Linked DNA regions of Homo sapiens: region 1 is linked to region 2. Evidence: promoter capture Hi-C in human tissues and cell types (Jung and others, 2019). All regions are on one chromosome and are shown on one strand. Each heading gives the region's core, a stretch centred on a gene start or on the middle of the fragment in contact. The rest is flanking DNA. Distances are from core to core; before and after follow the strand shown.

What was found. Contacts are between HindIII fragments. The study calls those that stand out against the background at their distance.
Region 1: a contact is called between a fragment that was not itself captured here and the fragment with the promoter of TCL1B in region 2, in 1 of the 25 tissues and cell types used here (lymphoblastoid cells).

What each region holds. Positions count from the first base shown.
Region 1 is chr14:95,633,415-95,636,735 of GRCh38, forward strand. No RefSeq gene overlaps it. Among named protein-coding and RNA genes, the nearest start is that of TCL6, 17 kb to the right of the region's middle. The HindIII fragment of the contact is 3,788 bases long and covers 1-3,321 here.
Region 2 is chr14:95,685,122-95,688,911 of GRCh38, forward strand. TCL1B (TCL1 family AKT coactivator B) reads left to right here and starts at 1,305. Exons shown (of 4, transcript NM_004918.4): 1 at 1,305-1,508. The coding sequence starts at 1,347. The HindIII fragment of the contact is 12,005 bases long and covers 1-1,533 here.

The DNA of each region.
Region 1 (3,321 bases), core at 345-2,844, 51 kb before region 2:
GCAGTAGTGCCCAAGAGGTCAAGCTGTGGTGAACCCCAGGTGGGCACAGGTCTGAGATGGGGGTTAAGCATTCTCCACTGGGAGGGGTCACAAGAATGCCAAGGGAATGAGAGCCACACAGCCCAGGGGAGTCTGAGGTGCCAGAAGCAACACCAGGGACTGGGGCAAAACCCTGCTGTTTTGGCCCAGAGGGTGTCATGACCCTGCTACTTTGACCTCATTGTTCAGCAAGCCACTGGTGAACTTGAAAGAAATAATGATGCTAAGCACAACCACCTGGCAGAAGCCAGGATAGGTCCAACAATTGCTCAGTGAATCCAAGCTTTGTTGTATGACCACATGGACAAGATAAGCCATGCCCAGACCCATAGCTAGCTGCCCCATGCATGCCAGGGGTGCCCCCAGCCAGCACTTCCTGAAGTTGTAAGATGCAGCAGCTCTGTGCCTAAATCGAATCCTATGAAAACAATTTCTAAAATGACTAGTGGACATGGGGAAAGCAAGACACAGCTCATAATGTGTGGAAAACTATTTTAATGTCTTACATTAGTTCAATGGAGTTCATACAAAAAATAGTTGCTTACCAAAAGTCACTATTATCATAATTTTGATTCCAAAGCTCCTACATATAAACATGGGATAAGCCATCTCTGAGGTCACAAGGGGAAGACCAGCATGGCCACTGGGTCAGACTGGCAGGGTCAGAGTGTCCTGAATTCCCAGATGGAACCTGGAGTTTAATTTGGAGCAGATATAAGAGTGGGCATTTTGGAGTACAGCAGAGAGAGGCTGTTGTGGCCTCTGTCCTAGTGGGTCTTGGTAACACAGTCATGAAATCAAAGAGCCCCCACAAGTCTGATCATTATTGAGTGCTTTCTGTGTGTCAGAGGCTGTGCTGGGTGGTGGTCAGGGAGGGGGTGTTACAGGCTGATATGGTTGGAGGAGGGGCCTGCTGGGAGGTGATTGAATCATGGGGGTGGACTTGCCTCTTGCTGTTCTCATGATAGAGTTCTTATGAGATCTGGTTGTTTGAAAGTGTGTAGCACTTTCCCCTTCACTTGCTCACTCTCCTGCCAGCCATGTGAAGATGTGCCTGCTCCCCTTCACCTTCTGCCATGATTGTAAGTTTCCTAAGGCTGCCCAAGCCATGATTCCTGTACAGCCTGCAGAACTATAAGTCAATTAAACCTTTTTTCTTTACAAATTACCCAGTCTTAGGTATGTCTTTATAGCAATGTATGAATGGACTAATACACAGGCATTGCTACATTGGAAGCTTAGCATAGCTAAGAGGTAGCAGAGGTAGTTTCTCCAATGAAGGAACAATGGAACTTTAGGAGAATTAAGTCAATTATCTCAAAGATAACCAGCTGAGAAAGAGTGACCAGGATTAAAACACAAGCTTGCTGGACTCCAGAGGTCCCACTCTTAACTCCCTGCTGGGCTGCTTCTGGGAGAAGATATATATAAGCCATCAATACACCATTGTGTGAGCCTAACCCCTTCTCCGTCTTTCCAGGCTCCTACCGGGCCAAGCCTCTGCCATCCTGGCTGAATTATTGCAAGAGCTCCCTCATTGACTCTGCATCCACCTTGTCCCCAGCCATCTATTCTTCACATAGTAGACAGTCATCTTTTAAAATTCAAGTCAGATCACATTCCAGCACTGCTCAGAAGCTTCCAATCACTTCCAGCCATGCTCAAAGGAAAAGCCAAAGAGCTTTCTGTGGTACACAAGGCCTTGTACCACTTGGCCTCATCCCCACCTCTCCTCCTTTCCTATTGCCTTCCTCTGGCTCTTGCTGGCCTCCTGCTGTTCCTTGACCAAGTAAAGTAGCTCCTGCCTCAGGGCTTTTGTACATGCATTTCTCTTTGCCTGGAATGCTGCCTCCCCAGATATCTGCCTGGCTACCTCCTTCTGCTCCTTTAGGCCTTTGCTCAAATGAAACCATCCTAGTGAGGTTTCCCTGACCTCTGATCTAAAATTGCAGCCACTCCCCTCCCATTTTTTTGCTTGTCTCCACAGCCCCTGTTGCCATCTGACACATGGTGTGTCTACCTCTGTATGTGGGGCTTATCCATCTACCAGAATGTCAGCTCCACAAGGCCAGGAGTTCTTGTCTGTTTCCTTCACTGCTGTATCTCCAGTACCTAGAACAGGAGTTAATTCATAGACAGGGCTCAACAAAAACTATGTTAATGAATGAATGCAGGTATAGAAAGACAGAGAAAGCATGTCATTGATAAGAGTCTGTTTCTTTCATCATATTGGCCAATGGGCACAAAAGTTGTTTTGAAACAGACAACATCTAAAGACCCCTCAGTTGCTAGACAAGAGTCAGTCTAAGTGCAGGGAGGGCCCTTCATGCCCTTTTGTGGAGTCTCTGTTCTTTTCTGGAATTAGCCACTCCTGTCCAAGGCAGAGGCTTCTCCCTAAATCCCTGGGTGTGTATTTCATCTCTGTCTTCATCCAAGGCCAGGGATGTGCCTTGACTTCTGGGTGTTTTGACCAGTAGGTAAGGTTTGTCCTGCAGCTACCAATGTTCAGGGGAGGTGCTGGGGGGAGGCTGGAGACCCTGACAGTATTGGAAGGTTCCAGCCTGGGAGCATGTGAGAGTGGGGCTGGGTGGGACAGGGCAGCTTCACTAAGCAGAGTGGGAAGAATAGGCATGCTGGATGTCAGGCGCAGAGGTCCTGGGAGGAAATGGCCCAGGACACAGGAGTGTGGCTCCCTACATCTTAATTTATCACTAAACCGGGTTCTTGGTGTATGTGTGTATGTGTGGTGTGTGTGAAGCGTGTGTGGTGGGGTGATGTTATTCCTGACCTCATCATTTGGGCTTTTTCTCAGGAACTTGTGAACTTGTGTAGCAGGGAAGAGCTCTGCAATTGTTTAAATCCTGACTCCATATGAATCTAGGAGATGCTCCACCTGCCTCTGACCCTCAGTTTCTTCATCTACAAAATGGTGGTAATATTCCTACTTCATGGAATTAACATATGCAGTTCAAATAAAATAACCAATAAAAATTGGACCTTGGCCGAGTCCTAGTCTCAGTAAGCAGTTCATATTAATCCTGATGATCACGCTCACAATTTTGCCACTGGGTGGGTAGATTTTTTGGCCATTACTGTTAGTGATTCTGAGTCTCCCAACAGAGCCTGGCAAAATCTTCCTCCCCCTGTCAGCCTCAGCCTGGGTCTTTCCAGAACTGTCAGGGAAGCAGCTCCCCTTCCTCAGCTCCCTGGGCCCAGGAGGGGCGTCATTGTCATAGAAATGAGAGAAGCACGTAGGTAATTGCCTGCTGAAGGTAGAGGGAA
Region 2 (3,790 bases), core at 55-2,554:
TAAGGATAGGACCTACCCCTGACCAATGGAATATGGCAAAGGTGACACACGTACGTGATTCCATGTATGGATCACATTATATGAGACTGTGATGTCCCTTGTCTTCCTGGCCCACTCCATTCCCACCCCAAGTGTTGGTTCCTTGGAAAAACACTGGGGATGGAGGTGGAATTGCTGTGAAAACAAGACTCAGTCCTCCACAGAAGCTGCCCAGGGAGTTCTTCAAAAGTGGTTATCCTACCTGCCATTTACACTGGATCAGGACTGTCCAGAAATCATTTTCACATCTCCCCAGCAGAATGGCATCATCTCAATACTAATCTTCACTTGAACTAGAAGAATCATGCTTGTGGTTTTCAAAAGGAAAAGGTTCCTATTCATGGTGCATTTAGAAGCAGCCCAGGGTGCTTATAGAACGGACCTGCTTCTTGCTATGTTCTTGAGCTTCTGAGGCCTCTTGACAAAGTCGAGCAAGTAAGACGACCAGGCCAAGTGGGCACTCTGGGCCCCATGGCCAAGGATGGGCTGGCCAGGTGGCCACGTGGCCTCCGGTGGCCTTGTTTCTGTGGGCTTTATCTGATCCTGAGCTCAGATGCTGATAGTGCACTGGCTTATTTTCTAAGGAGAGGGAGCTTGATTTGTGCAGGATGCGCCTTCACCAGATACCTCCAGGGGCAAGAGTCCACTGAGGTTACAGCGCCCCCCGCCCCCCATGCCTCTAAGCTCTAAGCTCAGAGAAGGGTCCCTGACACAGAGTCCTGTTAAAGGAATGGCCACAGGGATAGGAGAGACCAGGGTCGTGCATGCCAGCTCAGGATCTGGGGCAGGATGGTTGGCAGGGGGTCGTGGGGAGCAAAGGAGGGGAATCACCTGACAGAAAATTGGGCAGGGGTGCTCAGGGAGGAGGCTGCGGAGGGACTGGGACCAGTGGAAGGGAGGTGGAATAGGTCTTAGGAGCCAAATTCCTTGCAGAGGCCTGGGGTGAAGCCTGGGCAGCTCTATCCCCGGGAGCCGCCCTTTTGCCTCCAGCAGCTGCCGGTCCAGCCACAGCCCCTCCAGGAGACCCAGGCCGGGTTCCTAACTCCGCTGCTCTTTGGCCTCGTCCCTGCCTAGCCCCTGCTGCAGGTTGCTTTTTTCCCCCCTCCTCCTCCTCCCTCCTCCCTCCTCCCTCCTCCCCCTTCCTCCTCCTCCCCCTCCTCCCCCGACTGGCCCCGCCCCCACTGCCGGCCCCGCCCCCACTGCCGGCCCGGGCCCCACCCACGCCGGAGCTGCTCCATTTAAGGAGATTGCGCAGCTGGAAAGCTACACGTGTGAGCCTAGAGGCGGGTCCCGGTTGCAGACTTGCCATGGCCTCCGAAGCTTCTGTGCGTCTAGGGGTGCCCCCTGGCCGTCTGTGGATCCAGAGGCCTGGCATCTACGAAGATGAGGAGGGGAGAACCTGGGTGACTGTGGTCGTGCGGTTCAATCCCTCGCGTAGGGAATGGGCCAGGGCCTCCCAGGGCAGCAGAGTGAGTCCTGGGCACGAGGGGAGGCTGTGGGGAGGGCTGCGCACTGACCCCTGCCCGTGTGGGACCGCGGTGGGGGTCAGAGGGGGCCGTTCTCACCCGCACTGGAAAACTCACTTCTGTGCAGGTCTAGGAGCGCAGCAATGTCCATGCCCAGCCCTGGCCCCAGGAACACCCCCCGTAAAGGGACCACAGGCACAAGCTTATCCACATGAGATAATGTGGTCCTGCGTGGTGAAGCCGAGGCTAAGGTAGCTCAGGGCTTAGTGCCATTCCCAGTGCCTGCTGGGAAGGCCCACAAATGGGGCAGCTATTGAGCTGGGCTTTGTGGGATGAGTAGGAGTTCTCCAGGTCTAGAAAGGAGGCAGGAGTAGTATAAGCAAAAGCATTGCAGCCTGGAGGCACCAGGTGGGCCAACAGGATGAACATGACATTGGTGTCAGATTACTGATCTGCAAAATGAGAATAATATACCTCTGTGGCAAGCTAGTCACAGACATGCTCACATACATGGCTCACCGCCTGAATGGCCTGGGGAAGCATTTGACTGATAACAGATTCTGGAAATTAATTCAGGAGGCTTGGGTGGAGTCCTAGATTCTTTACTTTTCAAAAGCTCCCCAGGTGATAATGATAATGACTCAGGAAACGGCTGTAGATGAGGGCTTTAGATCACAGCCAGTCTTTGAGGGATGAAGTAAATACAGTAGCGTTTCTGGTGTGGGTGGCGGTGGGGAATTGATTCCAGGACCGACTGTGGATGCTCAAGTCCCTGATAGAAAATGACCTGGGTAGTAATTACATATAACCTCAGCGCATCCTCTACTATATTTGAAATCAGATTACTAATAACACCTAATGCTACACCTACACATCACTTCAAGCTCTGCTTTTGGGAACTTTGTGGAATTTCTTTTTTTCCCAAAATATTTTTAATCTGAGGTTAGTCGAATTCATGGGTGCAGTATCCATGGAAATGGGGGGCTGGCTGTACCTTAGTGTAATGTGGTAAAAGCATATCCGGATATTTAAAATGCCATTTAGGGCTGGGCGCGGTGGCTCACGCCTGTAATCCCAGCACTTTGGGAGGCCGAGATGGGCTTATCACGAGATCAGGAGATCGAGACCATCCTAGCCAACATGGGGAAACCCCGTCTCTACTAAAAATACAAAAAATTAGCCGGGCGTGGTGGTGGACGCCTGTAGTCCCAGCTACTCGGGAGGCTGAGGCAGGAGAATGGCGTGAACCCGGGAGGCGAAGCTTGTAGTGAGCCGAGATCGCACCACTGCACTCCAGCCTGGGTGACAGAGTGAGACTCCGTCCCAAAAAAAAAAAAAAAAAATGCCGTTTAGGTCTTCGTAAACAATTCACTGCCTGTTTGTTTGTTTTTTGAGAAAGTCTTGCTCTGTTGCGGCTGGAGTGCACTGGTGTGATGTTGGCTCACTGCAACCTCCACCTCCCAGGCTCAAGTGATTCTCATGCCTCAGCCTCCCGAGTAGCTTGGATTACAGGCGATTTTTTTTTACAGTTAATTTTTTTTGTTATTTTCAGGAGAGACAAAGTTTAATCATGTGGGCCAGGCTGGTTTTGAACTCCTGACCTCAAGTGATCTGCCCACCTTGGCCTCCCAAAGTGCTGGGATTACAGGTGAGCCACCTCGCCCAGCCAGTTCACTGACACTTTAAACAATATAACACATTTCCTAAAAAAAGTTCAAATAGGTTATTTCAAAAAATGTTGGTAGAGAACATGGAAAGGCTTTTCTGTACATACACTAAATAAAGCATGCAAAAATTGTGGAGCAAATATTTTAAGTTTTTCAAAAGCCTGAAAAAGTGTTAATGGAGGGCACTGTAAAATGGTGCAGCCACTATGGAAAACAGGATGAGGATTTCTCAAAGAAAGAATTACGGCATAATCCAGCAATGCCGCTTCTGGATATATACCCACAAGACTCTGAAGCCGGAACTTAAGCATGTATTCATACATCCATGTTCACAGCAGTATCATTCATACTAGCCAAAAGGTGGTGGCAGCCCCAGTGTCCATTGATAGATGAATGGGTAAACAACACAAACCATGAAGTATTCACCCTTAAAAGTCAGACACACGGATGAAACTTGGAGCCATTATACTAAATGAAATATGCCAGTCACGGAAGGACAGATTCTCTTGTATGAGGTACTCAGAGTGGTCTCATTCATAAAGTGGAATGGTAGCTGCCAGGGGCTGGAGGGAGTCGAGGATGGGAAGTTAATGTTAGTAACAGGTACGGAGTCTCAGT